Regions from separate parts of the Homo sapiens genome. Here regions 1 and 2 are each linked to region 3. The links are contacts of gene promoters, found by promoter capture Hi-C in human tissues and cell types (Jung and others, 2019). All regions are on one chromosome and are shown on one strand. Each heading gives the region's core, a stretch centred on a gene start or on the middle of the fragment in contact. The rest is flanking DNA. Distances are from core to core; before and after follow the strand shown. Region 1 overlaps USP42 (ubiquitin specific peptidase 42). Region 2 overlaps USP42 (ubiquitin specific peptidase 42). Region 3 holds the start of OCM (oncomodulin).

Region 1 (2,700 bases), core at 33-2,532, 240 kb after region 3:
GCTGGGCTCACACCTGTAATCCCAGCACTTTGAGAGACCGAGGAGAAAGGATCACTCGAGCCCAAGAGTTGGAGACCAACCTGGACAACATAGTAAGACCCCATCTCTACTAAAAATAAAAATAAAAATTAGTCTAGCATGGCAGCACACACCTCTAGTCCCAGCATACTCAGGAGGGTGAGACAGGAAGGTCACCTGAGTCTGGAAGGTTGAGACTGCAGTGAGCTGTGATCGCACTGCTGTACTTCAGCCTAGACAACAGAAAGAGACCCTGTCTCAAAAAAAAAAAAAAAAAACGTCTGATGCCAGCAACTTGGGACAGGCGAGGTTAAGAAATCCTGCCTCTCCTGGCATTTATATCATGTTGGAAGGCTCAATCATTTACATGCTTATAAGCCTTAGAGGAGAGGGACTCTCTTGTCACTGCCCGCAACCTCCTGGAATTCAGACTAGACTTTCCCTTTAGCATTTGAGAACTTCATCTTCAACCTACATGGCAGGAAATCAGTTAAAGCTTATTAAAATGTCTTTAATTAGATGGAAGCCAACTCAGTGGTTGACTATCAACCTTCAGAATTTGGAACATCCGTTTTTGAGGTTTTGGCCTTCTCCATATGTTGTAAATATCCTTCATTCTTTATAAATGCAGTCTCCCTGTTCTTTGATCTAAATTAATGGCTCAGATTCATGTGTGTATGTTCTGGGGCTATTAGTTACTAGGATTTAAAAAAAAAAATCCTTGGTTTCTTTTTGAATAGTTCTTTACTTAATGGAGAATTTAAATTGGTTCTTTTAAAACTGATTTTTTTTTCCCTCCAAAGAGCCAAGTAATGCTTGTAAAGAATTTGGAAAGTACAGAAAAACTTAAAGAAACCAAAGAAAAATCACCTAGAATCTCACCACCTACCTAGGGGTGTTTGTTATGCCAGAATTAACGTTCTGTTTGCCCTCATTTTCTCCCTTTCTCAGTCCATAATTCATTCCCCACAGACAGCTTTCCTATCACTTTTGCGCTTAATGAAAGTAGGGTGTGGATGAAAACCCAGCACTAGCACCTGGACAGCAAGAGAGAGGACCAAGACAAAATTCAGAAGCTCCCGATGTCCAGAATTAGGTGCCTATCTTTTATGCTACTGGTAGTTTTTGTGCTTGCTTCCTCCCTCCCTCCCTTCCTCCCTCTCTTTCTCTCTCTCTTTTCCCAGCTTTACTGAAGTATAATTGATATATACCAAATTACACATATTTAAAATACATAATTTGATGCATTTTGACATTTGTATACACCCGTGGAACTAGCATCAAGATTAAGATAATGAACATGTTCATCACCCTCAAAAGTTCCCCGATGCCCCTTTGAAATCACCCTTTCCATCCTTTCCCCACCCTCCTGCCCGGCAACCACTGATCTGCTTTCCGTCACTATAGATGAATTAGTTTAGATTTTCTAGAGTGTTGCTTATGTGGAATTGTACAGTATATATTCTCATATTATCTCGCTTCTTTCACTCAGCATAATCCTGTCAACATTATTCCATTTGTGCCATGTAGCATCACTTGATCGTATTGTTGAGTAGGATTCCATTTTATGGCTAGATCACAATTTGTTTCTCCATTTGTCTATTGATGGGCATCTGGGTCATTTTTCACTTTGTGCCGTTACAAATTAAGCTGCTATGAACATTAGCAAACAAGCCTTTGTTAGGACATGTTTTCATTTCTCTTAGGTAAATATCTAGGAGTAAAATGGCTTGGTCCTGGGGTGGGTGTGTACTTTAACATTTTAAGAGACTTCCAGACTTTCCAGAAGGGATTGCAGTGTTTTATAGTCCCACCACTGGTGAATGAATCTTCCATTTGCTCCACATCCTTCCCAATACTTGGTGGGGTCAGTCTTCTTCAGTTTTAGCCATCTCCATAGGTGTGTAGTGTGGTAGTATTTTGTTGTGGTTTTAATTTGTACTTTCATAATGAATAATGCTGAACCTCTTTTCTTTTTTGTTTTGTTTTTGTTTTGAACATCTTTTCATGTGGTTATTTGCCATCCGTATATTTCCTTTGCTAAAATGCCTGTTGAAATCTTTTGCCCGTTTGAAAACTGGTAGTTTTCTTATTGTTGAGCTTAGAGAGTTCTTTATATATCCTCGATATAAGTCTTTTATTATGTAGGCTGGGATTTGTCTTTTGATTCTTTTCAGTGTCTTTTAAAGAGTGCATTTTTTGTTTTGGGAAATTTCATTTCTTTTTTTTTCTTTTTATTCGTTGTGCTGTAGGTGTTTTAAGAAATCTTGGCTGGGTATGTGGCTCATGCCTGTAATCCCAGCACTTTGGGAGAACGAGGCAGGTAGATCACTTGAGCCCAGGATTTCAAGACTAGCCTGGGCAACGTAGGGAGAACTCATCTCTATATATAAAAAAAATCAAAAATTAGGCCAGGTGTGGTGGTTCATGTGTTTTGGGAGGCTGAGGCGGGTGGCTCACTTGAGTTCAGTAGTTTGAGACCAGTTTGGGCAACATGGTGAAACCCTGTCTCTATAAAAAATACAAAAATTATCTGGGCTTGGCGGTGTGCGCCTATAGTCCCAGCTACTTGGGAGACTGAGGTGGGAGGATCACATGAGCCCAGGAGGTTGAGGCTGCAGTGAGCCATGATTGTGCCACTTTATTCCAGTCTGGGTGACAGTAAGACCATGTCTCAAGGAA
Region 2 (2,700 bases), core at 112-2,611, 260 kb after region 3:
GTCAGGATTTCGAGGCCAGCCTGGCTAACATGGTGAAACCCCATCTCTACTAAAAATACAAAAAAAAATTAGCCAGGCATGGTGGCGCATGTAGTAGTCCCAGCTACTTGGGAGGCTGAGGCAGGCAAATGGCTTGGACCCGGGGAGGCCGAGGTTGCAGTGAGCCAGGGTCACACCACTGCACTCCAGCCTGGGTGACAGAGTGAGACTCCATCTCAAAAAAAAAAAAAAAAAAAAAAAAAAGAACAAAAAAAAGTAAATGAAAATGCATAAAAGTAGATAGCTCAAGGCATGCATATAGCAGCTATTATTTCATTTCAGGTGTGTGCCCCTGATTTGTAATTAGCCTTGATGTGTGTATATGGTTGTATTTTGCTAATTTGGAGGATTATCATCTATCTTTCAGGTCATGCAGAAGGCTTTTGTATGATGTGTACAATGCAAGCACATATTACCCAGGCACTCAGTAATCCTGGGGACGTTATTAAACCAATGTTTGTCATCAATGAGATGCGGCGTAAGTATTAACTATTGTAGTTTTATATTTGTATTTATTACCTAGTTATACTTTTTTTTTTTTTTTTTTTCGAGACAGAGTCTTGCTCTGTCGCCTAGGCTGGAATGTAGTGGCGCTATTTCGGCTCACTGCAGCTTCCACCTCCCAGGTTCAAACGATTGTCCTGTCTCAGCCTCTCGAGTAGCTGAGATCACAGGCGTGTACCACTATGCCAGGCTAATTTTGTACTTTTAGTACAGATGGGGTTTCTCCATGTTGGTCAGGCTGGTCTCAAACTCCTGACCTCAGTTGATCCACCTGCCTCCGCCTCCCAAAGTGCTGGGATTACAGGCGTGAGCCACCATGCCTGGCCTATTACCTAGTTATTCTTAATGTCCAACTGGTGAAAAAAACCGAACCCGTCATGTATTAGAAAACAAATACATTTTGTCGTACGTGGCTATGTCTTTGATAACAAATTTTTAGTAAAACATTTGCTATATAAACACATTTTGAAACTTTAAAGCAAAAGATGACAATATATTAAAGACTATTCAATTTAATATAACAAATTTTAAACTATTAAAAATCAATATGTTAAAATAATTGGTAAGTTTTATAGTGTCTTTGCTCTGAAACTTGGATTTCTATGCTGAGTAATACTAATTCTGATATTGTCTCACAGGTTTTTGTAAACAGTTTTTAATTAGTTTCAGTTTGGTGAATGAATACTTTACTATACGCAGTGACAGAAATTGTCAAAATAAAGTTAATTAGGCTACTCTGGACACACTGCCTGTGGATTAGCCCTGCTCTGCAAGCAGCAGTAAAAATAAAATAAGAAATAAATAAGGTTAATTCTCTTTTTTCGGTTCTTCTTTTTTTTTTTTTTCAAGTGAGACTGTGTCTCACTGTTTTGCCCAGGCTAGTCTTGAACTCCTGGCTCAAGTGATCCTCTTGCCCCAGTTGAGTAGCTGGGATTACAGATGTGCACCACTATGCCCAACTTAATTACAGTCTTAAAAGAATATATACTCAGAGCTTAGCAAATTGGTGGATAAATTTTACTTTTTTCTATTTAATTTTTGAATTTTAAATGGGTAAGTGCATGAAATTTTCTTACATTCTGTGTGTTTTTGCAGTAAACTTTTGCATCTTGTTAATTGAGTTGGAATAAAAAATGCATACAAACAAAACTATAACTCTTAATCTGGCATCTAACTGGGTAATTATAGGGATGTGTAATTATACAGTAACAAACTGTAATCTTTTTGCCTAGAAAGCCACTGAAGATTAAAGAGGTCTTATATTGGCCCTTGGCATTATTGATAGACCACAACAGACAAGCCAAAAACCTTTGAAATATTGTTGAAGCCTGGCAAAATTTAGCCAGGCAGGTTTGGATTGTTTACACATGCATGCATGCATTCATTCATCCATTCATTTGAGATGGAGTCTCGCTCTGTCCCCAAGCCTGGAGTGCAGTGGCACGATCTTGGCTCACTACAACCTCTGCCTCTCAGGTTCAAGTGATTCTTCTGCCTCAGCCTCCCAAGTAGCTGGGATTACAGACGTGTACCACCACACCTGGCTAATTTTGTAGTTTTAGTAGAGACGGGGTTTCACCATGTTGGCCAGGCTGGCCTTGAACTCCTGACCTCAGGTGATCCACCCGTCTTGGCCTCCCAAAGTGCAGAGATTACAGACGTGAGCCACCATGCCTGGCTATTTATACATGTATTTATTTGTTTTTATTCATTTATTTTTGAGATGGAGTCTCACTCTGTCGCCTAGGCTGGAGTGCAGTGGTGCAGTCTTGGCTCACTGCAACCTCCGCCTCTCGGATTCCAGCGATTTCTCCTGCGTCAGCCTCCTGAGTAGCTGGGACTACAGGTGCTTGCCACTACCCCTGGCTAATTTTTGTATTTTTAGTAGAGATGGGGTTTCACCATGTTAGCCAGGATGGCCTCGATATCCTGACCTCATGATCCACCCGCCTCTGCCTCCCAAAGTGTTGGAATTACAGGTGTGAGCCACCACGCCCGACCACATATATTTATTTTTATACATATTTATATAGCAGACATGACTAACATTTTTAAACCTAGTCTTTTAAGAAAATGTCATTGCTCTGTGTGTGTGTGTATCCACTGATACACACATGGTTCAGTCATGAAGTTGTCACGTTTGTAGGTCTAAACTGG
Region 3 (2,700 bases), core at 1-2,500:
TTCAGCTTACAGAGCACCCTGTATGTGTTTGTCTTAGTTCAGGCCACCATCTCCACCTTACCAGGCATCTAGAACCTTCTCCACACTTTGCCAACAGGGTTCGTTTGCAGAATTGAAATCTTAGTTAAGGTTTGTTGAAGTTTGTTGTTGTTTTTTTTTTTTTTTTACAATTGGCTGTTCCCACCCACATTCCCTTGAGACATAAATAGAAAAAAAAAAAAAAAGAGGTTTCATGAGTAAGACAAGACATTTGAGCTGCATCCACTTGATCCTTGAAAAGGAAATCTAAGAGGTTGTAACTATCACTTTTTCTAGCCTATATAAGGTAGGTCAGTAAGGTAGCAAAAACACATCTGTTGTTTTGCTCCTTCAACTCTTTTTCCTGATTCTTCCTGGGGGGAAACCGAAAACGGTGAGTAACTGGTGGACACATCAGACCCCAGACTCTTTTCTTCACTGCATGCATTCATATTAGGCTCAGGTGCTTAGACTCCTGTTTTCCGGTGGCTCTGACACCTGGAAGGATTTTAATCTCTGGGAGATGGGCTTTTCATCCATCTGCTTCCCACCTTTCAGGACAGGTGCATGCCTTCTTCCACAGAATGTCTGCAAGCAGCCCAAACTGTATCCTTTCCCACGTGGAATTTGCAACATTGCATCTCTCGGGCTGCTGTAGGAAAATGCCAGTGCATGTGTAACATGGTTTACGGCTGCCTATGCAAATGACTGATTATGTCAGTATAATTTTTATAAGAAAACAATTGAATCCTTCTTTGGGTCATTTTTTTTTTCCATTTTTGGCATGTATTCAAAAGAAGGCTCTGAGACAAAAAAGGCTGGGGTGTTTTCCGTATCTGGTTTTAATTTGGATATTCTGTCCCGTCACTTAATACAAAACCATGCTTATCACATTTTAAAAATTCTAGACAGGCCTGGCTCGGTGGCTTGCATCTGTCATCCCAGCACTTTGTGAGGCCAAGGCAGGCAGATCACCTGAGGTCAGGAGCTCAAGACCAGCCTGGCCAACATGGCAAAACCCCGTCTCTACTAAAAACACAAAAATTAGCCAGGCATGGTAGTGCGCACCTGTAATCCCAGCTACTGGGAAGGCTTAGGCAGGAGAATCACTTGAGCCCAGGAGGCGGAGGTTGCGGTGAGCCGAGATCACGCTCTTGCACTCCAGCCTGGGTGACAGAGTGAGACTCCGTCTTAATTTAAAAAAAAAAATAATCTAGACACACATACAGTTTCAGTGGGCCTGGGAAGATGTGTTTCCCCTGGATGTGCACATTCCTGTTTGTGGCTTATCGCCTCTCATTTATTCTGTGTGAGTAGGTAGAAAATGAGCATCACGGACGTGCTCAGTGCTGACGACATTGCAGCAGCGCTCCAGGAATGCCGAGGTAGAGGGGACGTGAGGCGGGGGTGGGATTTCCTCACAGCTTTGCACCTCCAGCGAGTCAACACAAAATCAAAATGTAGGCCAGGCGGCCAGACGCAGTGGCTCACACCTGTAATCCCAGCACTTTGGGAGGCCGAGGCGGGTGGATCACGAGGTCAGGAGTTCGAGACCAGCCTGGCCAAGATGGTGAAACCCCATCTCTACTAAAAATACAAAAAAATTAACCGGGCGTGGTGGTGGGTGCCTGTAATCCCAGCTACTCGGGAGGCTGAGGCAGAGAATTGCTTGAACCCGGGAGGCAGAAGTTGCAGTGAGCTGAGATCATGCCACTGCACTCCAGCCTGGGCAACAGAGCAAGACTCTGTCTACAAAAAAAAAAAAAAAAAGTAGACCAGGCATGGTGGCTCACATCTGTAATCCCAACACTTTTTGGAGGCCAAGGTGAGAGGACTGTTTGAGCCCAGGAGTTTGAGACCAGCCTGGGCAACATAGGAAGACTCCATCTCTACAACATAACAATAAAAATAAAAACTAGCGGGGCATGGTGGCATGTGCCTGTGGTCCCAGCTACTCTGGAAACTAAGGTAGGAGGATCACTGAAGCCCAGGAGGTTGAGGCTGTGGTGAGCTATGATCGCTACACTGCACTCCAGCTTGGACGACAGAGTGAGACTCTGGCTCTAAATAAATAAATAAATAAATAAATAAGAGGTTGGCTGGAAAATTCATGGAATCAGAGAAGAAAACTGCTATTTATTAGATAACTAAAATTATAGAGATCTGGGATCTGAGCACACGATTACACATCTGTAAGACAAAAGAAACCTACTAAACATGAAAGCAAGACATCACTGAAAGGCCAGGTGTCGTGCTCACACCTGTAATCCCAACACTTTGGGAGGCCGAGGCCGGTGCATCACTTGAGGTCAGGAGTTCAAGACCAACCTGGCCAGCATGGCAAAACCCTGTCTCTATTAAAAATACAAAAATGAGCTGGGCATGGGGGTGCACACCTGTAATCTCAGCTACTTGGGAGGCTGAAGCAGGAGAATCAGTTGAACCCGGGAGGCAGAGGTTGCAGTGAGCCGAGATCACGCCACTGCACTCCAGCCTGGTGACAGAGTGAGACTCTGTCTCAAAAAAAAAAAAAAAAAAAAAAAAAAAAAAAAAAGCGCCAAAGGCCATTTAGCCTGTTGAAATCCAGTGATTGCATTTCCCCCTACCAATTAGACCAGGGATGCTGGGGGCTCAGCCACACAGCCTGTAAAGTGGGCCAGGGGGAGGGGGAGGCACAGAAGA

The links. Contacts are between HindIII fragments. The study calls those that stand out against the background at their distance.
Region 1: a fragment that was not itself captured here is called in contact with the fragment with the promoter of OCM in region 3 in 1 of the 25 tissues and cell types used here (dorsolateral prefrontal cortex).
Region 2: a contact is called between a fragment that was not itself captured here and the fragment with the promoter of OCM in region 3, in 1 of the 25 tissues and cell types used here (stomach).

Annotation. Positions count from the first base shown.
Region 1 is chr7:6,115,826-6,118,525 of GRCh38, forward strand. The region is part of intron 3 of USP42 (ubiquitin specific peptidase 42); the gene reads left to right. Among named protein-coding and RNA genes, the nearest start is that of USP42, 12 kb to the left of the region's middle. The HindIII fragment of the contact is 7,776 bases long and covers 1-2,700 here.
Region 2 is chr7:6,135,435-6,138,134 of GRCh38, forward strand. It overlaps USP42 (ubiquitin specific peptidase 42), which reads left to right. Exons shown (of 18, transcript NM_032172.3): 4 at 407-517. Among named protein-coding and RNA genes, the nearest start is that of USP42, 32 kb to the left of the region's middle. The HindIII fragment of the contact is 7,739 bases long and covers 1-2,700 here.
Region 3 is chr7:5,879,548-5,882,247 of GRCh38, forward strand. It overlaps OCM (oncomodulin), which reads left to right and starts at 1,251. Exons shown (of 4, transcript NM_001097622.2): 1 at 1,251-1,403. The coding sequence starts at 1,343. The HindIII fragment of the contact is 18,194 bases long and covers 1-2,700 here.